Linked DNA regions of Homo sapiens: all the other regions are linked to region 1. Evidence: promoter capture Hi-C in human tissues and cell types (Jung and others, 2019). All regions are on one chromosome and are shown on one strand. The core of a region is centred on a gene start or on the middle of the fragment in contact, and the rest is flanking DNA. Distances in the headings are between cores, read along the strand shown.

Region 1 (7,576 bases), core at 1,833-4,332:
AGTAGCTGGGACCACAGGCCTATGCCACCACACTCAGCTAGTTTTTATTTTTTTCTTTTTTTGCAGACAGAAAAAAAAGTGCAGTGGCACGATCTCAGCTCATTGCAACCTCTGCCTCCTGGGTTCAAGTTCTCCTGCCTCAGCCTCCTGAGTAGCTGTGATTACAGGCGCATGCCAACATGCTCGGCTTATTTATTTACTTATTTATTTATTTATTTTTGCCCAGGCTGCAGTGCAGTGGCGTGATCTCGGCTCACTGCAATCTCCGCCTCCCAGGTTCAAGCGATTCTCCTGCCTCAGCCTCCCGAGTAGCTGGGATTACAGGCGCCCGCCACTGTGCTCAGCTAATTTTTTGTATTTTTAGTAGAGACGGGGTTTCACTATGTTGGCCAGGCTAGTCTTGAACTCCTGACCTCGTGAGTCGCCTGCCTCAGCCTCCCAGAGTGCCGGGATTACAGGCGTGAGCCACCGTGCCCGGCCAATTTTTGTATTTTTAGTAGAGATGGAGTTTCACCATGTTGGCCAGGCTGGTCTCGAACTCCTGACCTCAAGTGATCCGCCTGCCTCGGCCTCCCAGAGTGCTGGGATTACAGGCGTGAACCACTGCACCCGGCTGACTCATGCTTCTTTAAGGACACTCTTCGGCTGGGCACAGAGGCTCACACCTGTAATCCCAGCACTTTGGGAGGCTGAGGCAGGTGAATAGGAGTTCGAGACCAGCCTGGGCAACATGGCAAAACCCTGTCTCTATACTAAAAATACAAAAATTAGTCGGGCCTGGTGGCAGGTGCCTGTAGTCCCAGCTACTCGGGGAGGCTGAGGCAGGATAATTGCTTGAACTCGGGAGGCGGAGGTTGCGGTAAGCCAAGATTATGCCACTGCACTCCAGCCTGGGCAACAGAGCAAGATTCCGTCTCAAAACGAACAAAAAAAACCCATAAAAGTCACTCTTCTTCACAATATGGGGAGTTGGGGACCAGCTAGAGGTTTGGGGCTGGCCCTCTGCTTGGTGGTGGTTGGGATGGTCCCATAGGGGAGCCACTGTGGCCCAGAGGCCTGAGCCGTGTGGGCCCGGGCCTTGTTTACTGGACTGTGGGCTTCCTGGGTGCTGGGCCTGCTCCCAGGGAGTGGCTCCTTCCCAAAGCGTCCCTTTGCCTTGGGAGCGGAACCACGCAATAGCCTGACTGGCCCTGGCAGCCCATGCCTTGTGGCCAGTCACCAGAGAGGGCACACGAGACCCAGGCCAGGGGTATCAGGGACAGCCCCTGGTCAGACTCTGCTAGTTTCCCTGCCTTTCGCTACGTGGCTGGACCACAGGGGAAGAAATGGCAAGAAACCGTGTCTAACTCTCCCTTGATACAAATTCAAAGTTGGCTTGGGGGATGGCCACCTTTGGGACACACACCTGGACAGATCTAAGCCAGCAGCGTGGCTGTTTGCTAGGCACTGTTCTGTGCCTGGGGCTTAATTTACAGAGGTACGGCTGAATGACCATGAGGAGAGGCCAAAGCCATCGCAAGATTGATCGCATTTCCTGAGAGAAGGGGCACCCATGCCATGCACGGTTCTCAGTAGAGAACCCCAGGTTTGGTCAGGAGGCAGAAGCAGGGGCGAGGGGAGAGCCCAGGCCTGAGGCTTTCTTGGGGTTTCCATGGAAAAGGCCTGGCAGGGCAGGGAAAGAGTTTAAAATTGGCTAGTTTGAGTAATTCTAGCAGGCTCTGGGCTGCAGAGTGGTCTCTAGTCACCTGATACCTGGCCCTGGGTGACTTAGGGCAGGGAGAATCTTGCCTCCAAAGGCGAGAATTAGATAAGGAGGTAGCTGGGGCTGTAGACTTGGGGTCTTTTTTTTTTTTTTTTTTTTTTTTGAGACAGAGTCTCACTCTTTCCCCCAGGCCGGAGTGCAGTAGCGTGATCTTGGCTCACTGCAAGCTCCACCTCCCGGGTTCACACCATTCTCCTGCCTCAGCCTCCCGAGTAGCTGGGACCACAGGCGCCCGCCACCATGCCCGGCTAATTTTTTGTATTTTTAGTAGAGACGGGGTTTCACCATGTTAGCCAGGATGGTCTCGATCTCCTGACCTCGTGATCCACCCGCCTCGGCCTCCCAAAGTGCTGGGATTACAGGTGTGAGCCACCGCGTCCGCCCGGGGTTGTCTGTTTTGTATATGAAAAGCATGCTCTGCCCCGAGCCTTAGCTATCTCTCTCTCTTTTTTATTTTTGAGACGGAGTCTTGCTCTGTGGCCCAGGCTGGAGTGCAGTGGCACCATCTCGGCTCACTGCAACCTCCACCTCCCGGGTTCAAGCGATTCTCCTGCCTCAGCCTCCCAAGTAGCTGGGATTACAGGCGCCCGCCACCACGCCCAGCTGATTTGTTGCATTTTTAGTAGAGGCGGGGTTTCACCGTGTTCGCCAGGATGGTCTCGATCTCCTGACCTCGTGATCTACCCGCCTCAGCCTCCAAAAGTGTTGGGATTACAGGCGTGAGCCACCGCGCCCGGCTGGAAATCCATAATTTCAATGGATCAGAATTTGCCTGTCACGTTCTCTGTGCCAGGCACGGAGCGGGGGGGCGGCAGGGATGGAACCCGGCACATGGGCCTCTGCCTCCTTGGCGCGCTGTAGGCGCGAGCCTAAAGTCATCAGGCGACAGCCCCCGCCACGTTCCGGGGCGCCCCGACGGCTCCAGCAGCGGGTGGGGTGGGAGGCGTCCGGACAGTCCGGAGGCCTCGATGGCCAAGAGGAGCCTGGGCTGGAGGGGGCCAGGCCCGGGGGCGGCCGGGGGAGGGCCCGGGACTGGCGCAGAGGCAGCGCGAGGCAGAGGCAAGCACTCGGACGAAGGCGCAGCCCCAGCCTCGGGGTGCGGAACGGGCACCTTCCGGGCCACTTGAGTCTGAGACCTTGTAGCCGGCTCGAGGCCCGGGCGCAGCAGTCCCTGCCAGCCAGCTTTCGGCGCAATGGGACGCGGGCGCTCCTGGTGTGCCGGCCTCGGGCCCTGCACCCTCACGCATGCGCGGCCCCCCCCCCCCCGGTGGACTACAACTCCCGGCGTGCCCCGCGCGCCTCCCGGAAGTGATCGCTCCGGTTGCCTCCGACCTCGGCGCTGGGCGGGCGCGCCGGGCCTGGGGAAGGGGCGGGCGCGGGGACCCGATGCGCGGGAGCGGAGGCCGAGATGGCTTCGGCGGGAGGCGAAGACTGCGAGAGCCCCGCGCCGGAGGCCGACCGTCCGCACCAGCGGCCCTTCCTGATAGGGGTGAGCGGCGGCACTGCCAGCGGGAAGGTAAGGGGCCGAGCGGGCCGGGGTCTCGCCTCTCGCCGGTGCCTACGGGCGGCCCGGTCCAGAGAGGAGACCCCAGCCCCGGCCGAGGGGCCCCCTGCCAGGCAGGGGCAGGGCGCGGGAGCGAAGGGGCTGCAGGCCGCGATGGGCCGGGGCGGGCTGGGGCGGGCGAGGGGTTGGGGCGCTGGGCCTCGGGGCTCCCCCACAGCCTCTCCGCCGGCCGGGCTCCTCGGAGCCCCAAGTCCGTGCTAACCCCGTTGGGCCCCCGCGGCCCTTCCGCTGAGACCATCCACACCTGTTGGTGTCCTCCCGCCTTCCGAGCATACCCCCCAGGGGGCGGGTGGGTCAGTGTCTCCAGAAGCCGGCCCCGTGCCTGTCACAGGACGAGCGGTTCCAGGCGGGAATCCCGCTTCTGTGTCTCCAGTCGACCGTGTGTGAGAAGATCATGGAGTTGCTGGGACAGAACGAGGTGGAACAGCGGCAGCGGAAGGTGGTCATCCTGAGCCAGGACAGGTTCTACAAGGTCCTGACGGCAGAGCAGAAGGCCAAGGCCTTGAAAGGACAGTACAATTTTGACCATCCAGGTAAATCGCGAGCCCAACGATGTGGGGAGGGCAGACCCCATTCTGGGCGGCCGCTAACCAGCTGCGCTTGGGCCCAAGGTTGGATGGATGCAGACCCGCTTGGGCTGTTCCCCCAACTCGCCACGCAGCCTGCAGTGGAGTTGGCTGCACAGTGAAGTCAGGGGAACTTTGCTGAGTTCTCTGGGCCCTGAGTGTCCCCCCAGGAGCGTGGTTGGAGCCAGTCAGGAAGCCTGTTGCACTGTGGGGAGCCCTGCCCTGCCCTGCCACAACTGTGATCCTGGAGAAATCCTCCCATCTTCCCTTCCCACGTTGGGGCCTTTAGGGCCCTCCACACACACCTCTGCCCACTGTGCCCTCCCGTGCTTTGGGGCAAAGTCCTCAGAGAGGCCAGTGTGGGAGGCGGTAGGTAAACTAGTGCTGGTGGCTTGAAGCTCCGGGCCAGGTAAACGGGCAGATGCGGCAGGGAGACACCTGCCACTGCTAGAAGATTCCACCCTGGCTGGCTGGCATGGTCAGCCTTTTCCCAAGGACTTGTGGGAAGAAGGCCTGCAAAGCCGCAGTCTAACCAGTTAGTCCCAGAAAGAGAGAGAAGCAGAGGCCCAGCCTACCCACCTCCCAGGAAGAGCTGATCAGAAAACCCCTGTGTTCCGGCATCTCAGGGGCACAGAGCTTGGGCAGTGGCACAGCCCGAGAACAGCAAGGACAGGGTCATCCTGTGGTCTGCAGGGCTGCAGAGGGCACTGTTGCTACCAAACATACACTGCCGTAGTCCTAGTCTACCTGTGCTAGGGTTCTCGGTGTCCCCAGCACCCAGCTGTGCTGACCCCAGAGCAGAGAGGGTTCCCTGCTGTCCGCTGCACGAGGGCATCTGCCTGTCTTGCCTTTGTCTCCAACCCTGCAGATGCCTTTGATAATGATTTGATGCACAGGACTCTGAAGAACATCGTGGAGGGCAAAACGGTGGAGGTGCCGACCTATGATTTTGTGACACACTCAAGGTAAGCAGGTGGTTCTAGGGAGGGCCGAGGAGAGGGGCCAGCTAGGACGTCCCCTCGGGCTCACACAGACCTGCCTGGCGGCAGGCCTCCCCCGGTTGGTTTCTGTGGGTCCCCCACCCCTTCCCACAGTCAGTGTCCCTGCAATGGAAGCTGACTGTGTGTGTGGCCTGGAGACCCTGTGTCTGCAGCAGAGCCCCTTTCCCCGTGCGCCCCTCAGGTTACCAGAGACCACGGTGGTCTACCCTGCGGACGTGGTTCTGTTTGAGGGCATCTTGGTGTTCTACAGCCAGGAGATCCGGGACATGTTCCACCTGCGCCTCTTCGTGGACACCGACTCCGACGTCAGGCTGTCTCGAAGAGGTAAGGCGGCCGCGGGCCTCCGTGCCTGCCTGGCCGAGGCTGGCGGCAGGTCCTGAGGTCTGAAGCACGCCTGCCCCTTGCCGCTGCAGTTCTCCGGGACGTGCGCCGAGGGAGGGACCTGGAGCAGATTCTGACGCAGTACACCACCTTCGTGAAGCCGGCCTTCGAGGAGTTCTGCCTGCCGGTACCTGTGCTCGCTGCTTCAGAGCCCATTTTCCCCTTTCACAAGGACACATGGGACCCAGTACTGTGAGAGGGCTTAGTGCTGGGTGACAGTGATCTGATTGAAAAAAAGGAGAAGAATTTGGCTCATTATGGCCACATACCCTGGGAGTAGTTCTCAGCTGTAAAAACATTCTCTGTGCCTGCTCCTCCCTCTGCCTAAAAAAGCCCCATATCTCCCCCACATTCACACTGGCCGCTTCCTCCCTGCCTCAGGCCCTTGCCCAGCGTCCCCATTCAACACTGAAAACCCTCTGCACCCAGCGCCAGCCTCTCTGCCTGCTTCCTTTTTCCGGGGCACTTACCATCATCTGACACGTCCTGGGTGCTTATTCCCCGCAGAGTGGGGAAGCCCAGGAGCACTTTAGTCTGTTCACTGCCAAGGCCGGGATCTGGCCCTCAGAAGGTGCTTCAGAGCTGCTCCTCCAGGGTCTGTGACCCCAGGCTGCTCTGGGCCAGTGCTCTGAAATCTTGGAGTGAGCGCTGTGCCCAGATCCCAGCTGGCTCGCAGAGAGCAGGAACTCCCCGCTGCACACCCACCTGTCTTTTCTCCATTTCTCCATCTTGTGTTTCTGGCTTGGTGGGACTCGTGGCTCTACTCAAATGGGAGTGTTTTGCACGGGAACATTTTGCCTGTTAAGGTAAAAATACAGCACAAAGGAACTGAAACCAAGATTCCTGCCTTTGATAATGTAGGACAAGTAAGTTCTATCTGCTGCTTTTTTTTTTTTTGAGATAGGGTCTCTTTTTGTCGTCTAGGGTGGAGTGCAATGGCACGATCTCGGCTCACTCCAAACTCCACCTCCCAAGTTTAAGCAATTCTCCTGTCTCACCCTTCCGAGTAGCTGGGATTACAGGCGTACGCCACCACACCCAGCTAATTTTTGTATTTTTAGTGGAGATGGGGTTTTGCCATGTTGGCTGGGCTGGTCTCGAACTCCTGGACTCAAGTGACCCACCCACTTTGGCCTCCCAAAATGCTGGGATTGAGCCACTGTGCCTGGCCTTTTTTTAAATTTTATTTTTAATGAGGCAGAGTCTTGCTCTGTTGCCCAGGCTGGAGTACAGTGGTGCAATCACAGCTCACTGCAGTCTTGACCTCCTAAGCTCAAGCGATCCTTCCACCTCAGCAACCCGAGTAGCTGGGCCCACAGGCGTGCACCACCATGCTCGGTTAATTTTTAAATTTTTTGTAGAGATGGGGTCTCCCTGTGTTGCCCAGGCTGGTCTCCATCTCCTGGGATCTAGTGGTCCTCCCACCTCAGCTTCCCAAAGTGCTGAGATTACAGGTGTGAGCCACTATGCCTGGCCTATTGGCTGCTATATAAAGAAAACTTTTGTTTTTTTTTGCATTCATGCTGTCTGAAATTTCTAAAATATAATTTTAAAAGTAAAGTTAACTTGTTTTAGTCTCTCATTCACAGAAAGATATTTGGCAAAAAGTAGGTGATTCGCAGTAAAACTCTGGATATCAAATCTGCCTCAGCGACCTGAGTAGAGGAAGTGCTGTCACCTGCTATGTTCTGGGCCCAGGCCCCAGAGATGTTTTTGGTTGGTTTGTTTGCTTGCTTGTTTTTTGAGACAGGGTCTCCCTCTGCCACCCAGGCCCAAGTGCAGTGGTGAGATCTTGCTTCACTGCAGCCTCCACCTTCCACTCTCAAGTGATCCTCCCACCTCAGGCTCCTGAGTAGCCAGAGACTACAGGCACGCACCACCACGCCTGGCTAATTTTTCCTTTTTTTTTTTTTTTTGCACAGACGGGGTTTTGCCATGTTGGCTGGGCTGGTCTCAAACTCCTGGCCTCAAGCAGTCCACCCACCTCAGCCTCCCAAAGTGCTGGGATCACCGGCGTGAGCCACCGCACCCGGCCCCAGCCCCACCCAGAGCCGTTCTTGAGCCTCCTTTTCCTTCACCTTCATGTTGAGTGGCTTGTGCAGTCCTCTGCCTGGACCCCGTAGGTATTTCCCAACTGTATTCAGGCCCATCCCTGCTGGCGGTTAAGACCCCTGTCAGCTCTCCCGGACTCCTCCAGCCCGTCAGACTATCAGACTAGAATAGAAAGCAGCCCTCGCCCTTGCGCTCGTGCTTTCATGAGATGGGGTCCCACCAACTGCAGACACAGCTGTCCCCAGGACTT
Region 2 (7,576 bases), core at 1,690-4,189, 760 kb before region 1:
GGGGTGAACCCGGGAGGCGGAGCTTGCAGTGAGCTGAGATCGCGCCACTGCACTCCAGCCTGGGTGACAGAGCGAGACTCTTGTCTCAAAAAAAAAAAAAAAAAAAAATGAGTTGGGAACTTTTTTGTTATTCTTTGGAATGTTTTGTATAAGACAGCTTGTCTATTTCTTGAAGGCTAATTTGTTATTAGTATTGTATTTGTTGTCTTTATTTGTTGTCTTTTTTTTAACAGAATAAGTAAATTTCTATTTGCTGTTTAAATGTCATTAATGATTATAAGTCTAATCATGTTTTCTTTTTTTTTTTTTTTTTTTTTTGTACCCCAGCTCAGGCTGGGGTACATTGGCATGATCATGGCTCAGTGCAGCCTTGCCCTCCTGGGCTCAAGTGATCTTCCTGCCTCAGCCTCCCAAGTAGCTGGATCTGCAGGTTTGCCATCACACTGGGTTAATTTTTAAATTTTTGTTGTAGAGACAGGGTCTCCTCGTGTTGCCCAGGCTGGCTTCAAGCAATGCTCTTGCCTCAGCCTCCCAAGGTGCTGGGATTACAGGCATGAGACACTGCCCCTGACCACGTTTGCTGTATTATATATTTATTCCCTAAATGCACATGTGACACAGGCTTAGGGGTAGGAAAGTATAAGGAGAAAATTTATTTTTTGTAAGCCAGAAAAAATAAATTATTTTAAAATTATTTTATCTAAATCAGTAATTAATAGATGGAATTAAATTTAATTAAATCACTTGATTAATAGTTTATATTTTAATTAAAATCATTTTTCCTGGCCCAGCTGAGCCTAAGCCAAGATAATTACACTTGTTTTTAATTCTTCCACCTCTTTCAGGCCCCTCTACTTTCTTGTGGGCATTAGCAAGCTCCCATTGTAGAAATTTATATGTTTTTATTGGAATGGTAGCTTTAGCAATGTCAAACTCAATAGAATTTTAAAGTCTGTTCATTTTACTGAATGTAAATTATACCTCAAGAATGTTAAAGAACAAAACAGACACCCAGGCACCTAGACACTGCCCAGCCTTGCTCCCTTACGGGTGCCACAACAGCTCAGGGGCTTTCAAATCTGGTTTTCAGCTCTCTCTCTGTTTTTGGCCTCTAGGGATTTCTCTTAACATTCCCCTGAGCTTACCCAGCAGTGTAAAGGATATCTGTTATAATTTGCGGAACATTTCTGGGTGCTTATAGTAGGTGGGTTTCCAGGTAATCTCATCTACCTTTCTAGTGGAAACGTAAGTGAATTAAGAAATTTTCAGGCCGGGCGAGGTGGCTCACTCCTGTAATCCCAGCACTTTGGGAGGCCAAGGCAGGTGGATCACGAGGTCAGGAGATCAACACCATCCTGGCTAACACAGTGAAACCCCATCTCTACTAAAAATACAAAAAATTAGCTGGGCGTGGTGGGGGGCGCCTGTAGTCGCAGCTATTCGGAAGGCTGAGGCAGGAGAATGGCGTGAACCCGGGAGGCGGAGCTTGCAGAGAGCCGAGATTGCGCCATTGCACTCCAGCCTAGGAGACAGAGCAAGACTCCGTCTCAAAAAAAAAAAAAAAAAAAAAAAAAGGTTTTCAAACCCTCAAGTAAATGTTGACCTTAAATTTAGGAAAATGAGCTGAACTGGGATAAAAAATATGCTGTAGATAACTAAAAATAAGCCATTCATTTTTCATATAATCATTGTATTTATTATGTGCCCACCACTCTTCTAGGTGGTGATCAAAACCCTATTCTTTTGGGGCTTAACATTTAAAGGATGGAGATAGACAGTAAACAAATAACTGTGACGTGTCCAATTAGAATAAATGCTGACAAACTCTACATGATTGCATAATTTAGCCCAGTGATATAGTGGGGAATATTTATTTATTTATTTATTTATTTATGAAACTGGTCTTGCCTCCCCTGCTCAAGCAATACCCCCATCTCTGCCTTCCAAGTAGCTGGGACCACAGGGGGAGGCCACCACGCCTGGCTAATTTTTGTCAATTTTGATAGAGGTGGAGTTTCATCATGTTGCCCAGGCTGGTCTCAGACTCCTGGATTCAAGCGATCTGCCTACCTTGGCCTCCCAAAGTGCTAGGATTACAGCCCTGAGCCGCTGCACCTGGCTGTAGTGGTGAATTTTTTTTTTTTTTTTTTTTTTTTTTTGAGACGGAGTCTCGCTCTGTCTCCCAGGCCAGAGTACAGTGGCGCGATTTCAGCTCACCGCAACCTCCACCTTCTGGGTTCAAGCAGTTCTCCTGCCTCAGCCTCCCGAGTAGCTAGGATTACAGGCATGTGCCACTACGTCCAGCTAATTTTTGTATTTTTAGTAGAGATGGCGTTTCACCATGTTGGCCAGGCTGGTCTCAAACCCCTGACCTCGTGATCCACCTGCCTTGGCCTCCCAGAGTGCTGGGATTACAGGTGTGAGCCACTGTGCCCAGCCTTGTAATGGAGAATTTTTAAATAAAATAATAACACGTGGGAAAAAAAATAAAGACGAATAAAGGTGTTTTTTTGTTTGTTTTTTTGAGACGGAGTCTTGCTCTGTCACCCAGGCTGGAGTGCAGTGGTGCAATCTTTGGCTTACTGCAACTTCCACCTCCTGGGTTCAGGCAACTTTCCAGCCTCAGCCTCCTGAGTAGCTGAGATTACAGGTGTGTGCCACCATGCCTGGCTAATTTTTTTATTTTTAGTAGAAATGGGGTTTTGCCATGTTGGCCAGGCTCGTCTCAAACTCCTTACCTCAAGTGATTTGCCCACTTATATCTCCCAAAGTGCTGGGATTATAGGCGTGAGCCATTGTGCCTGGTCAGAAAAAAGATTTTAAAAAACCCAATAGAAGAAATTATAATAAAAGAAAAAAACAAAAACATTAAAACCAAAAGGACAAGAAGAAAGCAATGTGTTAACCTGAGATTAAAATGTGGTTAGTAAACAGGCAGGTTAAATTGGTTTTTATAGTTCTTGCAATTATTATATCCAAGAATTTCTATCATCTTGTGTCCCTTAGTTTCTAGAGTATCAAGGTGATGTGGAACATAGTTTTAAAAGCTTTATTCTGAGTATTCTGCAAAAGAAGGCTCGATGGTCAAATAAGATTCTGTTCTGAAAATTACATATTAATATATAACATATAAAAGTTTTTGAAATATTCTGCAGTTAAGAGTGTTGGGGATCAGCCTCAATACCACCCGTAGGGTACCCGAAGTGCAGTGGTGACAAAGAAATGAGAAGAGACAGGTTAAGAGTTCATAAAGGAGGGAACCAGGGGGCCAGAGCAAATCAGAGGCTGCAAAGGCTCCAAGCTATGATCTCCACACTATTTATTGAAATAAATAGTGAAATGGTGAAAGGAGAGCCGTGTGTCATACACCTAATGTATAGGAATGGCGGTTTAGGTAAATTTTCTTTGTGCTGAAGCAGTATAAACTTAACTACTGATTTATTTTTTAACTTATCAGAGAGCAGCTGTGGGGAGTGGGCCTAACTAGGAGCTGGCATATCTGGCCACATTCCAGTGCTTCAAAGGAGTATCTTTCTCCTTGAGCACAGTGTTTATAGATAGGAGAGCAGGTCACATTCTGGTCATGGGAACATGATGGCAATTAGAAGGCTTTACTCCTCAGAGGCCTCTTGTGGCTTTCTACAACTTACTGTTCCATATTTTTATGGCTGGTTTATGCAGGCACCCCACAAGCCCTTTCCCCAACATGAGAGAACTGCTTCGTTTATTTTATCTCATCATTTTTCTTGAAACTATTTTGCTATGGAATGTCCTACTGAACATAGTTTGAAAATGTTACTGTAATAGAATCTCAACTCTGTAGTGTACTGTTTAGATGGCCTTGCTAACCTTTATTAGGTAGAAATGATAACTACTTGCCTTATAGGATTGTTAGGAACAATATCTGAAATAATGTATAAGAAGTTTGTGGTGTAGTCCCTGGTGTCTGGTTAATTGGAAGTTCATGTTTGCTCCCTTCTCTGATTATTAACATATTTACTTAGAAATATAGATACTATGTATAGAGACAGGATTGATCAGCAGTGTCCTTATTAGTCCTTAACTGTGATTCTTATCAACAGGAAACTGTGGAGATATAAATTTAGTACGACTGGGTCCAGAAAAGTCTATTAATAGTGAGGTTCTAAAGTTCAGTTTGGACAGCCAAGTAAACCACAGAATGAGTAAGTACTGAATGTGGTATATACTAGTGTTTTCTCTGTTTTGTTTGGTGGAAAATGACTTGGGCACTAAAGGTAATTTGAAGCCTCCAGAATTAGTCTGGCTTTGGGAACTAATTTTCCTTCTCATTGTGTTGTATATGTGTGTGAGTTTGTTAGAATTAGAATAGCATATAATTTTTTATTTGTTATTTTTATTAGAAAAAGAGTTACCTTCTCATGTTCAGGCGATGCATAAAAGAAAGGAATTTCTAGATTATCAGCTGGATGAGCTTTCCCGGCAGCGAGCTCTATGCCGAGGTGGACGGGAAATACAGGTATCTTTGCATTTCTTGAATAATAACTCAGGTATACGAACTAGTTAACAAGTTTTTTTTGAGACAGAGTCTTGCTCTGTCTTCCAGGCTGGAGTGCAGTAGCACAATCCTGACTCACTGCAGCCTCACCTTCCTGGGTTCAGGTGATCCTCCTGCCTCAGCCTCCCGAGTAGGTGGGATTACAAGGTTGTGCCGGCACACCTGGCTAATTTTCTGTATTTTTAATGGAGATGGGGTTTCACCATGTTGGCCAGGCTAGTCTCGAACTCCCGGCCTCAAGTTGATCTGCCCACCTCAGCATCCCAAAGTGCTGGGATTACAGGCATGAGCCATTGCGACCAGCCTAATTAATGAGTATTTAATGCCCTTTATTTATTGGGGAATGGCATGATTCATGTATAAAAATGTGTACTAAGACACTAAAAATGTGTCTCAGATTAACACATTTCTTTCTGCTTTTTTTTTTTTTGTCCTTTTGGTTTTAATTTTTTTTTTCATTTTTTCTTTTATTAAAATTACTTTTGTTAAAAATCTTTTTAAAAACTTTTTTGTAAAGGGCAAGATATTCTAGTAAAGATTTTAGGCTTTGCAAGCCATATGGTTGGTTTCTGTTGCAGCTATTCAACTCTGCTTTTGGTAGCACAAAGGCAGCCATAGATAATACATAAACAAATGGATGTGGCTGTGTTCCAGTAGAACTTTATTTACGAAAATAGATGGGGTGTTGCGTTTTTGTTTGTTTTTGAGATAGGGTCTCACTTTGTGGCCCAGGCTGGAGTGCAGTGGTGCAGTTGTGGTTCAATTTAGCCTCAAGCTCTTGGACTCAAGTGAGCTGTCTTTCTGCCTCAGCCTCTTGAGTAGCTGGGACTACAGCCGTGTGCCATCATGCCTGGCTAATTTTTTTGTTTGTTTTCTGTAGAAACTGGGTCTTGCCATGTTGCCCAGGGTGGTCTGAACTTCTTGCCTCAAGCAGTCCTCTCACCTTAGCCTCCCAAAGTGCCAGGATTACAGGCATGAGTCCCTGCACATGGCCTTGCATTTGGCTTATAGGCTGTACTGCCTTATATTAAAGCTATACTGAGTTTATTAGTTGCCTTTCAGTTGCATGTTGAGCCCAGTTCAAATTAGGTTAGACAGAAAGGGAATTAGCTTCAGTATGGGTGGATCCAGAGGGTCACATGATATCATTTCTCCACTCCATAATTTGTTTTTCTGTGTGTCAGCCATTTCTTCTGAGAAAGGTGAGTGTCAGCATCTCAGGGCTTCCACCATCTCAGCTTTGAAACCCCAGAGGGAGAGAAAGTCTTTCTCTTAGCATCCATATATCCAAAGAAGCAGTTAGTTTAGTCCCTGGGTGAGCAAGCAGGTCTAATCCCTATTTTTAAGAAGATGGGTGCATGATTGGCCAGGCCTGTGTTAGATGCCCATCACTGTGGCCAGAGGAATGGTTGGGGTGTGATTTACAGCCTCATTTGAATCACCTGGAAGTTAAGGGTGGCGTGATGCTCCCAGTGCTGGAATGCTAAGCAGACAGCTCACGTGCAGCGCACAGAACACAGCTGAGTCTTACGCAGCAGCATACAGAGTGTGTCAGGACTCCAGTGGTAAAGAGGAAATAAGCTGGGTAAATACATTTTTCATTGGTGAAATACAGGCTCTTTTAAAATTAGAGGTAGTCCATTGGAAGGCATTTAAAAATGCTTAGTTTAGTTTTAATTGTGACATTTGAATTTTTTTCCAGAGGCAAGAATTAGATGAAAACATTTCCAAAGTTTCTAAGGAAAGGCAGGAACTTGCTTCTAAAATTAAAGAGGTAAGTAGTTCACCTGTAGCATTTTCTTGATTTTTTTTTTTTTCTTTTTAAAATTTAAGTATGACTGTTCAGACAAGCTATGGGCTTTTATTTATTTATTTTGGAGACAGAGTCTCACTCTGTCTCTCAGGCTGGGGTGCAGTGGCATGATCTCAGCTCACTGCAACCTCAGTCTCCCATGTGGCTGGGATTACAGGCGTGCACCACCATGCCTGGCTAATTTTTTTTTTTTTTTTTTTTTGAGGTGAAGTCTTGCTCTGTCACCAGACTGGAGTATAGTGGCGTGATCTTGGCTCACTGCAACCTCTGCCTCCCGGGTTCAAGCGATTCTCCTGCCTCAGCCTCCCGAGTAGCTAGGATTACAGGCGTGTGCCACCACGCCCAGCTAATTTTTGCATTGTTAGTAGAGACGGGGTTTCACCGTGTTGGCCAGGATGGTCTGGATCTCTTGACGTCATGATCCTCCTGCCTCAGCCTCCCTCAAAGTGCTGGGATTACAGGCGTGAGGCACCACACCTGGCCTCTTTTGTGTTTTTTTTTTTTTGAGACAGAGTCTCACTCTGTTGCCAGGCTGGAGTGCAGTGGCACAATCTCAGCTCACTGCAACCTCTGCCTCCCAGGTTCAAGTGATTCTCCTGCCTCAGCCTCCCGAGTAGCTGGGACTACAGGTGTGCGCCACCACGCCCGACTAAATTTTGTATTTTTAGTAGAGATGGGGTTTCACCATGTTGGCCAGGATGGTCTCCATCTCATGACGTTGTGATCCGCCCACCTCGGCCTCCCTAAGTGCTGGGATTACAGGCGTGAGCCACCATGCCTGGCCCTTTTTTTGTATTTTTAATAGAGATGGGGTTTCACCATGTTGGCCATGCTGGTCTGGAACGTCCAACCTCAAGTCATCCCCCGTCTCGGCCTCCCAAAGTGTTGGCATTACAGGCGTGAGCCACCATGCCTGGCCAGCTATGGGCTTTTCTCAGTTACATTTTAAATTGTTATGAAAAATTACAAACATCTGTGGAAGTGGAGAAAATGGTGTAACAACATTTGCATTTTTTTCTTTAACCTAAGAATGAATTCTTACCACCATCTAAGATTTCTAAGAGGTGGTTATAAGTTATCTTTTTTGTTTTAAGTCTGGTAAATATTTAAATTCTTTCTTATAAGGTGCTCTATTTCTGCTTCCCATAAACTGCAAAAAACAATTATGATAATTATCATCAGATAAACAGTTAATGAAAATAGCTTTGGCCAGGCGCGGTGGCTCA
Region 3 (7,576 bases), core at 2,474-4,973, 700 kb before region 1:
CCTGGCTGGGCACCAGGGCCAAGCGCTCGCTGAAGGATGCCCACATGCCGGGGTGATTAGAAAGTGATTCATGCAAGGAGGGCAGGGTCATGCCACCTGGCTGTGCACTGGGGGAGGGCGACGCCTGGGTTCACGGCGCTCGCCGTGGTATCCTCGGGTAGATGAATGCATGGATGGACGCTGGACAAGATGCAATGGGCCAGGAGCTCCTGCCCATGCTGCTTTGGAAGATGGCTGGGAGGAAAACGCCCACCTGCCAGACCCTTTCTTATTAGCCTGAGCTTTCTGCAAGTTTGATTGTTTTGCAGGATGCTAAGAGTGAGTGCCACTTTAAAGCAGGAGCCCTGGGAACCTGCATGCCTCCCCCTGGTCCTGGCCCGGCTTCTGACTCGCTGCTCCTGGAAGCACATGGTTTCATACCAAGGACCACCACCACCATGTCCTGCCGCCTCCTGCACCCCACCCCTACGTGGTTCTCAGGCTGACCCCTGCCTAACCAGCTCCGCTCCAAGGACCAGACAAGCCCGTGACTGCCTGGGGCAAGGCTCTCAGGGATTGGAGGTGAATCCCACATTGTCAATGGAGGATTTGGTGAGGAAGGTCACCATCCCTAAGAATGGGGGGGCATCCCTTGATGTTCCTACGAAGGGACACAGTACTCACCCACCCACCCACCCTCCAGCAAGAAAGCCAATGTGGCTGCCCCCGAACAAGGAAGGACAACGGCCACCCTCTTGAAACACCATCTGTGTATCTCTAGAGGACCCAGCTTCCCTTTTGTGATGGGATGAGGGACTGACCCAGTGGTCAAGGGCATGGGAGACTAGAGAAACAGCCTGTGCCCAGGAGAGATGGTGGGCACTCCCACCTGTGGGCCACCTAGTCCTGCCCCCTTCACTTTGTCCCTCCAGAGATAATGAGGAGATGAGGCATCCTCTAAGTGTCCCAAAGAGCAGCATCGGTGACCCGTGTGTCCCAGATTCTGCTTCAACCAACACGAGCCCCAGGGCCACACCTCCCAGGGGAGCCGGGATGGGCTATTTCTGGCATCTGCTCTGCCTGCTGTGTGGCCTGCCCACTGTGCCCAAGTTGGCTTCTGACTCATACCTGCTCCCAGCTCCCTTGGGGAGGGAGGCCTGTAGGGAAGAGAGACTCAGTTTAACCTTGACCCAGCTACTCCAGGAGGGTTTTCGGAGCCAGGCATCGGTCCTCTATCCTGCACCGTCTTTTTCCAGCGGCGGATGGGGAACAGGTGTCAGGGAGGGCTGATGGGGCCCCAGGTCCATCCTCTTACCTTGGAATTCTTCAATAGGCATCACTTGAGGAGATTTGGGCTTGAGCTGGAAAAGTTTGTAGCCCTTGGCAGGGGCAGGGGCAGCGGCAGGGGTGCCCACAGCTTGGAGAGATGAGAAACAGGTTCTTTCGTCTGTCATGGTCCCACTGCCCAGGGAAGAGCCCAGCAAAGGCTTCCGAGCCGCCCTGGGCCAGCTCTAGGGCAGGCAGCCTTGTCGCCTGCTCAGATGTGAGGGAGGGAGAGGCCCCTCTGGCCTCAAATCACACAGCCCCTCTCCTCGAAGAGCCCAGGGAGGTGGGGCCCCTTCCTGAAGGAAACACAGCACATCCCAAGCTTGCAAATCAGCCCTGCCCTTGGTCCCCTCTCTGAGACCATGGACACATCTGGCTGGATTAATCCTCCAAATGACTTCTGTAACCCCTGACACCCCCGCGCCCTGCTAAGACCTTCTTGGAAGCCAAACTGTTTTTAGATAGATTGACATCACATTGCACACCACGCCCGTCTCTTGCTCTCCCCACCGCCTCTCCAAACTTCCTGGAGCATCAAACCCAGAGACTAAACTTGGCATTTAAGGACTTTGGCATCTCCCTTCCTTTCTGAAACACTCTTCCTGCTCCAGCCGAAGTGAATCCTTCGCTGTCCCTGGAGTCCCACTCGCAAGTGCTGTCAAGCCAGGAACACGGACGGCACCTGCCTTCCACTGCCCAGAATCCCGCTGGGACCCCAACGCCCTATCTGTGGGTGAGCAGGCCACTGTCCCGGGATCGTCACTACCTTGGCTTCCCTCTGGGGGTCTGTGGTGCCCTGGTTGGCCCAGGGTAGGGAAGCGATGGCTCCCGCCAGCTCTGTCTCCATCACCACAGAGGACACCAGGCCCAGGTCCTCCAGGTTTCTAGGAACCGAGCCTCAGACCCTCTCTAAACATGCTTCCAGCGCCAGAGCTTCCTGCCAGTAGAGGGCGCTCAAAGCCCTGCTCGCTGCTCAGAGCTGGGGCTGGAGGAAATTTGAACATGTGAGCTGGAAGGAACAGCTCACCTGTTCCCTAGACCTCAGGCCCTAATTCCCCACCCAGGCTTGGTGAGCTGGGGCCAGGGACAATTTCCCTTCTGGAGAGTCGGGCAGGCCTGCGCGTTTCCTTGGCATGTCTGTCTATGGCTACAGATGAGCCCTGTGTCTCCTCCCACGTAGCAGGAGGATGTCAGTGTCTTCCAGGACCCCGCCCTCCCTCCTTTAACCCACACATTTTCCACTTTGTCAGGCTCCCTGCCATCCCACTGCCAAGCCTTTGCCCCGGCTGGCCCTGCGGCCTGGAATGTGCTGCCTTCTCCCTTCACCCACCACAGTCCACCCTCCGAGGTCTCATGGCCCCCGCTCCTGCAGGAAGCCCCCTCTGACTCTCTGATCCAGCAACTGCCCAGGTGTCCTGTGAGCAAGGGCAGCTGGAGAGGGGGGTTCCTGTCGTGGGAGGCGGGGCCTCTACCAGACTCCGAAGCCCTCGGAGGGAGTGCTGGTGGAAGGGCTTGGCGTGGGGGTGCCACATGGAACCTCTTGAAGCAGGTGAGCTTGGGGGCAGAGCTGGTAGACCTGCTCTACCAGGCCGCTCCCTCACCACTGTGCCCTAGAGCTCCCCAGGCACCGACATTCTACACCCGTGCCCTCAGTTGGTTCCTGCGGCCCCCCTCCAACCTCAGGTCCCCACCATGCACACCTGCTACTTCCACTACAGAGGGAGGGGCCTACGAGTCTAAGAGGGCGCTTCCCCGGGGTCTCAGGCCCATCACAGGCCTTGCCCCCCCATACCTTCTGCACGGGAGGCCACCTGGGACCACCTGCTCGAGAGAGGGGCAGCCGTAGATGGCCTGGTCCACTCTTGGGGGGAAGAAGAGAAGAAACCAAGTTATGCGAGGGGGTGGTGCTGAGGGAAGCTGGGTACATACTGAGGCATCACAGCCCCGCACCCCACAGGCCCCTTAGAAGCAGCAGCACTATAAGGAGAGGCTCTGTCTACACTGGCCAAAGGAATTGGGTCCAAATCTACTACATAGGCAGCATCTACACTATTTCAGCCTGTGGAGGGCACATGCAGACTTAAAGCCCGATAGATGAGAGGTGAACCCATGCCTGAGAATCTGCATATTCTTCAGCGAGACCCTTCTACACTCCCTGTGCCGTCCCCGTTCTGACTGAAGGACAGAGCTAGACCAGGTCCCGCCTCTGGGCCCAGACCTCTCTGAGCTGATGTCTCTGGCTAATGGCTGCGAAGTGGGACATGTGTTCCGGCCAAGATCTTACATGTGTCCAGAAGTGTCCTGGAAGGTGTCCTTCCTGTCCAGCCGCAATCCAGGGACCGGAGCCTTCCCCAGCATCTGACCTGCTTCCCTGATCACTGCCCTTCTACCTTCCTGACCCCTGGCCTGGCCCATTTTCACCAGGGACCCCAGCATGAACCAGTGACACAACGCTCAGCCCGTAGACTAACGGGACACACAGCCAGCAAGGCAGGCAGGCAGGGCTGGCAAAGAACTGCCCTGTGCCCAAATTTCAAAGGACAAACCCAGAGGGACAGGGGAGCGCTGCTGTTTTCCGCTTCTTGAAGGGATTATACACAACGGTGGCTGTGGGGAAAGAAAAGGAAAAGCTACCAGCTAACAAGTGCGGAAGACTTTCCAGCTGGGAGCGGGGAGCTTTGGACATGAATTGACTTTAATATGATGTTCAGTGGGAAGATGAGGCCGCCAGGCCCAAATTGGCAAGGGCTTAATTAGAGCCATGAGAAAGCCAGCCCTGAAGGCATTTGCTTCAGAGCCTGTCTCCCTCCATCCTCCGTGGCCCAGCCCAGGAAAGGATTAGTGTCTCCAGCGGCGTTTTCCGCCCGCAGCGCTGTCCTCCAGACAGCTTGACATTGGCAGGCGGGAGAAACATCTGGCCCAGGAGTTCAGAGGCCCAGCTGGACTCTGTTCAAAGAGCCCGAAGCACCTGTTGGGAGGCACTCGGGGGTATTCAGGATCTTTCAGGGACCAGGGTCTTGGGGAGGGAGAGAGTCCTGGCTTGGCTGCCCAGGGACACACTCAGGTGTGTGGGAAGCAAGTTCTCGCCATGGCCTGTGTGCTGTGCCAAGGCCCCATGGAAGCCCGGTCTGCTCCTTTGGAACTGGGAAGCCCTGCAAGCCAGGCCTTGGAGACAGCACTACTTGGCCGGGTGCGGTGGCTCACGCCTGGAATCCCAGCACTTTGGGAGGCTGAGGCGGGTGGATCACTTGAGGTCAGGAGTTCAACACCAGCCTGACCAACATGGTGAAACCCTGTCTCTCTAAAAAGACAAAAAGTAGCTGAACATGGTGACAGGTGCCTGTAATCCCAGCTACTCGGGAGGCTGAGGCAGGAGAATTGCTTGAACCTGGGGGGGCGGAGGTTGCAGTGAGCTGAGATTGCTCCATTGCACTCCAGCCTCAGCGACAAGAGCGAAACTCCATCTCAAAAAAAAAAAAAAAAAAGATAGCTCTACCTCATAGCCCCTGGAGGCCTCAGGACAATAGCTTTGGGTGGCTGAGTTGGCGAGCCCTGAGTTCAAATCCTGCCCGTGCCTCTCCATAATTCTGAGACCTTGAGCAGCTGCCCCTTTTTTCTTCTGAAACAGCTTGATTGAGGTGTAATTTACATATCATAAAATCCAGCTGCTTCTTCCTAAGCCTCGATCCCCTCACCTGTGGGACTAGGAAAATAACAGCCTCCATCTCACGGAGCTGTGAGCCCAGAATACAATGATATGATGATACAATGATACGAGCACAGCCCAGGAGAACTCACCCTCAGCTACTGCAATGATCGTTTTCATTAATGGGGGCTCTGGACAGGGGCTTCAGTTGCTGAAGAGGAGGGAGGAGCCCCTAGATGTGGGCTGTAGGGGCCACTGGCTGTCACATTGGAGCCACCTCCTCCCCTAATGTCCTGCTTCTTGATACAGGGCTGAGGGTGCAGAGCAGCACTGTCTTGCCGAGAGGGAGGGTGTGCCTTCTGCTCACTGAGGGGGTCCTGGGGACCCTCACCTCCCCTGCATTTCCCACTCTGGCCTCTGACTTTTCCTCTTTAATTCCCAACTTTGCACAATCTGCCCAGCCTCCCACGGCTGCCCTGGCACCAAGTCAGAAGCAGCTCTGCAAATGGATTCCTCTGTGTGTGTGTGTGTGTACATGTGCGTGTGCATGCCTGTGTGTGTGCATGCATGTGTGTGTGTGCATGTGTGCACTTGCACATGTGATATGGAGAGTATCTGGCCTCCCAGCCAAACCCCTGTTTGGAGACAGGCACAGCACCCACCACCACTGTTTTTGCTTCTGTCTGCCCACCACAGGCTCAGCAGCAAAGCACAGGTCCCTTGTGGCTGGGCCAACCTATGTCTGAAGTCCAGAATTCTCAGAGTGACCCATGTCTTCCACCCCAAAGAGGATTCCTGGGTCAGGAGGCTTCCCGGAAATCCTCCAATCTTTTGGCTAGCCCCTGCCTCCTGTAAATGCCTCCTGCAGAAAAGGAAGGATGTAGAAAGAGGTGGGGTGTGCTGCCCCCAGGGGAGCTGCTCTGGATGGCCTAGGAAGGAGGAGGTCTTTCTCTCAGCATTTGCCCCTGTCTGGGGAGCCTGAGTGTCCACCCAGCAACAGGCCGAGGCAGGAGCTGATGGAGGGGACTCTGCCCTTTAGAAATGCCACCCCCCAAGGGGGAAGGATCAGTGGGGCAGGTCTCCTTGGATCAGAGAGATGGAGGGCCAGGGCACTACCCAAGGGGCCAGGAGTCCCCACCAGGTCCTCCCTGCAGGGTGGCGGGGGACAGGGTGTGGCAGGCTATTGGAGCACCCCTCCCTGGCTGGGACCAGGAAGAATTCCCCTTGGTCATCGTCTTCCTGGTGCCCTCTGGGAAGGATAAATCCTTTCAGACCCCTGGCACCTGCACTGCACAGAGTGCAGGGATACTCCCCAGGTGAGTCCAGGTGAGAGCAGAGGCCCACTCCAGCACCCCCAGCCTTGAATACACGTGAATCCCTCCGTTGGAGGGGAGCGAGAATCAGGTTTCCATGCCTGTCTGTGGCAGACCCCTGAGGGGGCAGGACGTCTGGCCCTGGCCTGGCCTTGCACTACACACACAGCCTCCACATTCCCAGCAGCCCACGGTGTCCAAACTCAGCTCCAGAGGCTCCCTTTGCCCTGCTGATCAGAGACATTTGCTTTCTGGGCTAACCCTGCTCCATCCATCCCACCGGTGTGCTGCTGAGGGGCTAAGGACAGAGAGGCCCTGGGGGCCAGGTGGGGACAGGGTGTGGGCGGGGCTCCAGGGACCACGGAGGCAGAAGCACCATTGGGAGATAAGGCCAGTCTTTGGCTGCATGTCAGGATGGCCTCGCTGCCCCCAGCACCTTTCCTCTCAGTTCCTGCAGCCGTCTGGCCACAATGGTCTGGGAGCCCTTCCAAGCAATGGCTTGAAGGGCAGGAGGAAGACGACTTTGGAAGCTGAACTGATCCCTGAATCCCCTGGCTGGGCTCAGGAACAGGTTGACCCAGGTGTCCTCAAGCCCCTTTGGCCTGTGGCCTCCCAGCTCTAGGGTTCTAGCGTCTCTATTCTAAGAGCCAAGCCCCTGCTCTCTGCCCAGGGCTGCCGACCCTCCCACCCCAAGAGAGGCAGGGACCCAGGCTAGAAGCAGGAGAGGGTGGGATGACAGGGGTCGCTGTACCCTGGCACCCACCTGTGGGCTGTGGGGTGCTGGGCGCCATGGGGGCCCAGGCAGTGGACGTGGAGGGGACAGGAGTAGTAGGGGCCCCTGTCATGGCTGTGGTGGCCGCAGTGGCCACAGGGCCTTTGGGGTCGGGGTCTTTCTGGGACCTGCTGATGCCTGGTGAGAGATGGGAAAAGCAAGAGAGGGTTGGGGGGTTGCCGGGGTGGGGACACCACAGAGAAGCAACTTACGACGGCTGTGCAGACCAGCGTCCCTGCAGGGTCCAGCTTCTTTCTGGCGCCCTCTCGGCTCACTGGCTTCCCAGCCAGGGGCCCCCTGGGTCCGGGAGGGACAACTTGGGTGGGATGTGGGGCCCCACAGAGCCCTGGTGGAGGGTGACGGTGCACCCCAGAAGCATCTCTGAGATTTGGGGTCTGCTCCCGGCTGGCTCTTTGACATTGGCCAGTCCTCTCCTGCTGCCTCGCAGAGCAGATGGCGACCTCCCAGGGGGAGGGGTTTGCAAGGCTGAAAGGAGAGACCGTGCCTGGCACCCTGTGAGTGTCTGGGGACAGTCTCGAT
Region 4 (7,576 bases), core at 2,068-4,567, 570 kb before region 1:
GAGTAAAAGACAGAAGCAGGATTGTAACACGGGGGTCTCTGATCCCAAAGCACGGGCAGCACCATCGCCATGCTTTGCACCTCCGGTGGACTGGCCACATCAACATTACTTGGCCGCTTGTTAGAAAGACACCTGCTGAATCATGATTTGCATGTTTAATAAGTATTGAGGTGATTCATTTACACATTCAAATTTGAGAAGCACTGAGCCAGGGAACTCATACCCCCAAACAATCTCACTCACAAACACAGGACATACCTTGGAAATCAAAAAGATTCATTACATGTCTCCATCCTGTCTTCAAGAGTGTTTCTGAAATGCTATAATACAGAAGATTCCCTCCCACCCAGAGTGAGAAAACACTGAAGTGGTAAAAATTTAAAAGGCCGGGTTGGGCTGGGCATGGTGGCTCATGCCTGTAATCCCAGCACTTTGGGAGGCTGAGGCAGGCGGATCACCTGAGGTCAGGAGTTCGAGACCAGCCTGGCCAACATGGTGAAACCCTGTCTCTACTAAAAATACGAAAATTAGCCAGGCGTGGTGGTGCACACCTGTAATCCCAGCTGCTCAGGAGGTTGAGGTAGGAGAATCGCTTGAACTCGGAAGGCAGAGGTTGCAGTGAGCTGAGACCACACAGCTGCACTCCAGCCTGGGCAACAAGACGGAAACTCTGTCTCAAAAAACAAAATTTAAAAAATTTAAAAAATTAAACGTCCAGGTTGCCTTCAGGGCATGCTGATGTGCCCTATAGTACCCTCGTGTGCTATTCAGGCTGCTTAGAGATTTGAGGGTCAGTGTGCGAGGGGAAGGGGAAATTTGTATTTACAAAATTGGTGGCTGAGGCTGAATGCTCAGTTCCACAGTGGAAGGAAGAGGGGGCCTGTTTTTAGGAAGGAAGTAGCAGCAGTTCTTTTTTTATTTTTCTCCTGAGACAAGGTCTCACTTTGTTGCCCAAGCTGAGTGCAATGGTGTGATCACAGCTCACTGCAGCCTCAACCTCCTGGACTCAAGTGGTCCTCCCACTTCAGGCTCCCAAGTAGCTAGGACTACAGGTGCACACCACCACACCTGGCTAATTTTTAATTTTTTTTTACAGACAGGGTCTCACTATGTTGCCCAGGCTCGTCTTGAGCTCCTGGATGCAAGCAATCCTCCCACTTCAGCCTCCCAAAGTGCTGGGATTACAGGCATGAGCCACCATGCCCAGCCCGCAATTTTAATATAATTGGTCAAACGTCCTTTTTCCCTTCCCTTCTCAGAGGTGCCAGTGCAGAGCTGCTGGCTTCGTGTGGGTCTAAAACCGCTCAGCTCAATTCTGGAGTTCAAAGACACCATTAATTAACTCAGAAATCATTGACACGAGGCTACTCCCAGGTTATGCTAATCTGGTGAAATCTGTAAACCCTATAACCTTACAGGAAGTCAGAGCTGCCACTGGCCCACTCAGCAGCACCTTTGTGCCAGTGAGCAAAAGGTGCTCCTCGCCCCCCCGCCCCCCAACCAGGTAGATGCAGCCCCAAACCATGTTGTTGGAATTGGTGCTGTGGTTCGAATGTGTCCGCTCCAAAATTCAGGTGTTGCTAGTGTGATAGAATTAAGAGAGATGGGGCCTTTAAGAGGTGATTAGGCCATGAGGGGTCCTCCCTTGTGAATGGGATTAAGGCTCTTACTAAAGAGGCTTCACACAGCCTTCAGCTCCCTTGCTCTTCCGCCTTTGCCATGTGAGGACACAGCGTTGCCCCCCACCCTGCCCGGAGGATGCAACAATAAGGTGCCATCTTAAACACAGAGACCAGCCCTCACCAGACAACGGAACCTGCAGGCTCCTAGAACCTCCCAGCCTCCAGAACGTCCAGAGAATGAATTTCTGTTATTTATGAGACACCCAGTCTCAGGTATCATAGTAGCGTTAATCAACTAAGACTTGGTGAATGGACTACAGAGTGGATTTTTGTCACCTGCGCATTTCCACACCCTCAAGGGCACCAATATCGCATGAGAAGCCCCTGTTGCAAGTGGGCCTGTGGCATTCCACCTTTTAAAAAGGTAAAGGGACCCTGAATAAATACATAAGTCATTTAAGGCTTGACAAACAGCTCTTGGAACAAGGGCATGAAAACAGGTGATTCTCAGGGTGATGTGTGGGGTTGAAGAGAGACCCACGGAATCAAGAAAGAAAGAGCCAGGCCAGGCTTGGTGGCTCATGCCTGTAACCCCAGCACTTTGGGAAACTGAGGCAGGCAGCTCACCTGAGAAAGGGAGTTCAAGACCACCCTGGTCAACATGGTGAAAACTAAAAAAAAAAAAAAATTAGCCAGGAGTGGTAGTGGGCACCTGTAATCCCAGCTACACAGGAGGCTCAGGCTGGAGAATAGCTTGAACCTGGGAGGTGGAGGTTGTAGGGAGCCGAGATTGCACCACTGCACTCTCAAGCCTGGGCGACAGAATGAGACTGCATCTCAAAAAAAAAAAAAAAAAAAAAAAGTAAGAACTAGAAGAATCGAGTCAGCTAAGGTCCTATTTTCCAAGGCTCTTCCCCATGTCTAAGAAAATTAATGAAAGACACACCTTTTTGCAAAAACCATAAACTATATGACTTGTGCATGACAAAAAGATGGAGTCCATCCTGCAAATATTTCAGAACTTCCTAGCTAGGTGGGGGTTTGGGGAGCAAAGAAGCTCACAGATGTGTGTTCTTGCCAAGCATATTGCACACAGGTGCTAGGGATGGCCAAGCCCTCAGGGGCTTGAGATACTTGGCCAGTGTTTCCCAAAATGTGTTCCATGGAACTATAATCCCATCCATTGCTTCTTAAAAACAGGTGCAACTGTCAAAAGATATAAACTTCTTTGGGATGTTTACAATGAACATTATTGAGCATTCTTGCCCATTTCCTTTGTTTAATTCAGCATTTTCCAAACATTTGACCCCAGACACACCCTGTCCCCACACCTGCTCTTTAACATGTTACCATCCACCAATGCTAGTTAGTTCCCTACGATGTGGATTTTGATTCTGTGGAGAATCTGGGGAATAAGCTTATTCCTTCTTGGGTTCAAATTAGAGACGTCCGCTGTTCACGGAGCTCCACACTGAATTTCCTTCTCCCTTTGAGAACGTTCATCACTTAAAGTCTACTCTTTCAGTGTTTTGATAGCACATCTCACATGTTTTTTTCCCTTGAAAGCCCAGTACAATTTGATGGTGACCGTCCTTTTTTTTTTTTTTTTTTTGAAACGGAGTCTCGCTCAGTCGCCCAGGCTGAAGTGCAATGGTGCGATCTCAGCTCACTGCAACCTCCGCCTCCCGGGTTCAAGTGATTCTACCGCCTCAGCCTCCTGAGTAGCTGGGATTACAGGCGCCCACCACCACGCCTGGCTCGTTTTTGTGTTTTTGTAGAGATGGGGTTTCACCATATTGGCCAGGCTGGTCCTCAACTCCTGACCTCAGGTGATCCTCCCACCTCGGCCTCCCAAAGTGCTGGGATTACAGGTGTGAGCCACTGCGCCCGGCCATATTTTAAAAGAGGATAGAGGACGCCATCTAGGGTCACCTGCCATTCTCTTGTTCTCAGGCTAGGAGTGACCCATGTTCTTTGAACTCTTCACCACTTTTCTTTGTGACTGTACTGAGCTCCAGGGTGTCAGAGCTGCAGAGCCTGAGTTCTGCCTGGGGTCTTGCTCAAATCCCTCCTACCTCTAGGAACCCAGAAGCCCCACCCAAAGTGACCCTACATGACTTGGGGTGGGGTGTGCCAGGAGTCAGCCCTCTCAGGAGCCACATACCCATTGTTGATGGGAGGCGACATTTTCTTTTGTTCCCCAACCCCCCTGCCAGGAGCCATGCCCCTCTCTTGAGATTTTCTCTGAGTTGGAGACTGAAGCAGAGAGTTGAGGACCTCAGAGGACAGAGGGTGTCTCTGGCTGCCGGAGCAAGCTGAGCCATATTAACATTCCCATTGGGTGTCAGGAGGGTGGGATCCACTCAGGTCCATGTTGCAAGGAAGTTTCTCCATCACCCCCTGCCCCATCTCCCTTCAAGGCTGGAGTGCAGTGACTATTCACAGGCATGATTGTAATGTACTATGTAGCCATGAAGTCCTCCTCTCCACCTCTCCCACCCAGCTCCATCCCAAGAAGCTTCGTCTCTCCCAAGCTGACCCCTTCACCAGGGCCACCAGGCCTGCTGGGAGGACTCTGGCACTGACAGGTGCCTGCCGCTCACAGGGCCTGTCTGCCACCGCACTGTGATGGCTGGGGAGGGTGAGGGTAGAGGGCAGAGGACTTCTTGCCTCACAGGTGCTCCCACAGGTTCGATGTCCTTTGCTGAGGTCATCTCCCTCCTGTGATTTAATGAGGCTGAAGTCAGAGAAAACCCAAAGATGCCAGAGGGGCCGCCTCCTCCCAAAACCCGCCAATGCCTCCTTTTTCAGAGAGGATTTTCTTCCCTTCTCTCCTCCCTTTAAAAAAAAAAAAAAAAAAAAAAAATATATATATATACATATATATATACACATATATATACACACACTATATATACACACACTATATATACACACATATATATACATATGTGTGTATATGTGTGTATATATATGTGTGTGTATGTATATATATATATATATATAGATATATAAAGAAATGCATGTACATAGTTTAAAAAATCAAGTAGCCCTATAAGGTTTATTCTAAAAATAGCCCTACTCACTGGTGCTGATCCCTTGTCCCAGAGGCAGCCACCTTCAACTCTTTTAGCTTTATCTTGATGTTTCAGCTTTAAGCATCATATAATCGACTACCTGCTATAGAAAATGAGGATTTAGTTCTTAGGCACAGGCACACACACGTTTATCTTATCTCACCACCCCAAGATCACAGGTTCTAGTTAAACCAATATTCAGTGTTTACTGTCCTATGACTTGGGAAAATATTATATGCCACTGACTACCCAATGCACTGTGATTGCGTTTTTTGGTACAATTTCATTTTTCTCAGAGTTAGTAATTTTGATGGGTTTTTATATTTTCAATGTAGTTGCTAATTTATCTCTGTCACAACTCTAAAGCTTTTGTTAATATAATTAAAACTTCAGAACCTATTAGTTCTGTGTCTTGCTTTAAGCCCTCTATCCTGGGCTGCAATCAGCCTGGTTGCTGTGCTGGGCCCTGTGCACACCTGTGGTCTGGGTCCTCTGTAATAACATTTACCTCTCTCTTCTGTTGCATCCCCTGTTTCCTGGATTCTCTGTTTTCCACTTTCTTGGTTTACTCTCTCATTTTGATGGAGCACGTCCTCTAGTAGCTTCTTGAGAAAAGATGCATGGAAGGAAAATTCAGTGAGACCAGGCATGTCTGAAACATACTTAGTCCACACTTACACTTGATTGATAAAATTATCAGCTGGAGGCTGAGTGCAGTGGCTCACACCTGTAATCCCAGCACTTTGAGAGGCTGAGGTGGGAGGATAACTTGAGTCCAGGAGTTCAAGACCAGCCTGGGCAACATAGTGAGACCCTATCTCTAAAAGAAAAAAAATTATCAGCTGGACATGGTGGTGCATACTTTTAGTCCCAGCTACTTGAGAGGCTATGGTGGAAGGATAACTTGAGGCCAGAAGTTCAAGCCTGACTAGTGCACTACAGTCGTGCCTGTGAAGAGTCACTGCATTCCAGCCTTGGTAACATAGCAAGGCCCTCTTTCTAAAAATAAAATAAGATTATCAATAAGTTCTAGGTTGGAAATATTTTTCCGCAAGATTATGAAGGCCTGTGCCTTCTTCCAATTTCCAGTGATGATGTTAGAAAGTCCAATGCCTGTGGGCAGATCACCTGAGGTCAGGAGTTCAAGACCAGCCTGGCCAACAAGGCAAAACCCCGTCTCTATTAAAAATATAAAAATTAGCCGGGCACGGTGGCGCATGCCTGTAGTCCTAGCTACTTGGGAAGCTGAGACAGGAGAATTGCTTGAACTTGGGAGGCGGAGGTTGCAGTGAGCCGAGATTGTACCACTGTACCCCAGCCTGGGCGACAGAGCGAGACTCCGTCTCAAAAAAAAAAAAAAAAAAGTCCAGTGCCTGATCCTTGATCTTTTGTGTATGACATTCTGTCTTTGGAAGCTTTTGACATGATTTTACACTGGCACTCTGAAGGCTCTTTAAATCTGGAAATGTTTGCCCTAAAGTTTTGGGAAATTGTCATGTATTATTTTTCTTTGATAACTTCTGCCCCTCTATTTTCTCTCTCTCTATCTCTTTTTTTTTTTTTGACCTGGAATTCCTCATTTTGGATATTGAACTTCCTGGACTGTTGTAGAGAGAATAATGCCCCTCTACAGATTTCCACATCCTAATCCCCAGAACCTGTGAATATGTTACCTGACAGGTGAAAGGAACTTGGTAGAGGTGACTACATTAAGGATCTTAAGATGAGGAGATTAAGTTGGGTTTAATCAAACAGCAAGGATTTTTTTTTTTTGAGACAAAGTCTTGCTCTGTCAACCAAGCAGGAGTGCAGTAGTGCAATCATAGCTCACTGCAGCCTCAGACTCCAGAGTAGTTGGGGTCACCAGTGCCACCACACCAGGCTAATTTTTAATTTTTTACAGAGGCGGGGTCTTGTCATGTTGCCCAGGCTTCTCTTGAACTCCTGGCATCATGTGATCCTACTACTTCAGCCTCCAAAGTGCTGGGATTACAGGTGTTGGCCACTGTTCCTGGCCGCAAGGATTCTTATAAGAGGAAATCAGGAGGGTCAAAGTCAGAAAAAGGAGATATGACCATGAAAGCAGATGTTGGAGTGATGTGCTTTGAAGGTGGAGGAAGGGGCCACAAGCCAAGGAATTCTCTAGAAGCTGGTAAAGGCGAGGAAACAGATTCTTGCTTTGAGTCTCCAAAAAAGAACCCAGCCCTGCCAACACCTTGCTCTTTGCCAAATTAGACTCATTTCAGACTTATGACCTCCAGAACTGCAAGATACTATTAATGTTATTATTAATATTATTATTATTTTTTGAGACAGAGTCTTGCTCTGTCACCCAGGCTGGAGTGCAGTGGCATGACCTCAGCTCACTGCAACCTCCTGGGTTCAAGTGATTCTCCTGCCTCAGCCTCCTGAGTGGCTGGGATTACAGGCATGAGCCACCATGCCTGGCTAATTTATTATTACTATTATTATACTTTAAGTTCTAGGGTACATGTGCACAATGTGCAGGTTTGTTACATATGTATACATGTGCCATGTTGGTTTGCTGCACCCATTAACTCGTCATTTACATTAGGTATTTCTCCTAATGCTATCACTCCCCCTGCCCCCCACCCCATGACAGGCCCCAGTGTGTGATGTTCCCAGCCCTGCGTCCAAGTGTTCTTATTGTTCACTTCCCACCTATGAGTGAGAACATGTGGTGTTTGGTTTTCTGTCCTTGTGATAGTTTGCTCAGAATGATGGTTTCCAGCTTCATCCATGTCCCTGCAAAGGACATGAACTCACCCTTTTTTATGGCTGCATAGTATTCCATGGTGTATATGTGCCACATTTTCTTAATCCAGTCTAGCATTGATGGACATTTGGGTTCATTCC

The links. The method cuts DNA at HindIII sites, captures the fragments that hold promoters and counts their contacts. A contact is called where the count stands out against the background at its distance.
Region 2: a contact is called between a fragment that was not itself captured here and the fragment with the promoter of UCK1 in region 1, in 3 of the 25 tissues and cell types used here (IMR-90 fibroblasts, aorta and hippocampus).
Region 3: a fragment that was not itself captured here is called in contact with the fragment with the promoter of UCK1 in region 1 in 1 of the 25 tissues and cell types used here (spleen).
Region 4: a contact is called between a fragment that was not itself captured here and the fragment with the promoter of UCK1 in region 1, in 4 of the 25 tissues and cell types used here (IMR-90 fibroblasts, adrenal gland, dorsolateral prefrontal cortex and 1 more).

What each region holds. Positions count from the first base shown.
Region 1 is chr9:131,526,769-131,534,344 of GRCh38, reverse strand. UCK1 (uridine-cytidine kinase 1) reads left to right here and starts at 3,082. Exons shown (of 7, transcript NM_031432.5): 1 at 3,082-3,278; 2 at 3,700-3,859; 3 at 4,761-4,857; 4 at 5,075-5,217; 5 at 5,307-5,401. The coding sequence starts at 3,171. RefSeq lists silencers at 2,677-2,846, 2,987-3,346, 3,547-3,596 and enhancers at 3,012-3,925, 4,631-5,830. The HindIII fragment of the contact is 11,870 bases long and covers 1-7,576 here.
Region 2 is chr9:132,285,158-132,292,733 of GRCh38, reverse strand. SETX (senataxin) reads left to right here. Exons shown (of 26, transcript NM_015046.7): 16 at 4,083-4,184; 17 at 4,383-4,498; 18 at 6,240-6,311. Among named protein-coding and RNA genes, the nearest start is that of SETX, 66 kb to the left of the region's middle. The HindIII fragment of the contact is 5,333 bases long and covers 273-5,605 here.
Region 3 is chr9:132,231,241-132,238,816 of GRCh38, reverse strand. The region is part of intron 5 of NTNG2 (netrin G2); the gene reads right to left. Among named protein-coding and RNA genes, the nearest start is that of NTNG2, 73 kb to the right of the region's middle. The HindIII fragment of the contact is 6,849 bases long and covers 299-7,147 here.
Region 4 is chr9:132,100,939-132,108,514 of GRCh38, reverse strand. It overlaps LOC105376302 (a long non-coding RNA gene), which reads right to left and starts at 5,295. Exons shown (of 3, transcript XR_930403.1): 1 at 5,208-5,295; 2 at 4,709-4,802; 3 at 3,933-4,343. The HindIII fragment of the contact is 4,547 bases long and covers 1,044-5,590 here.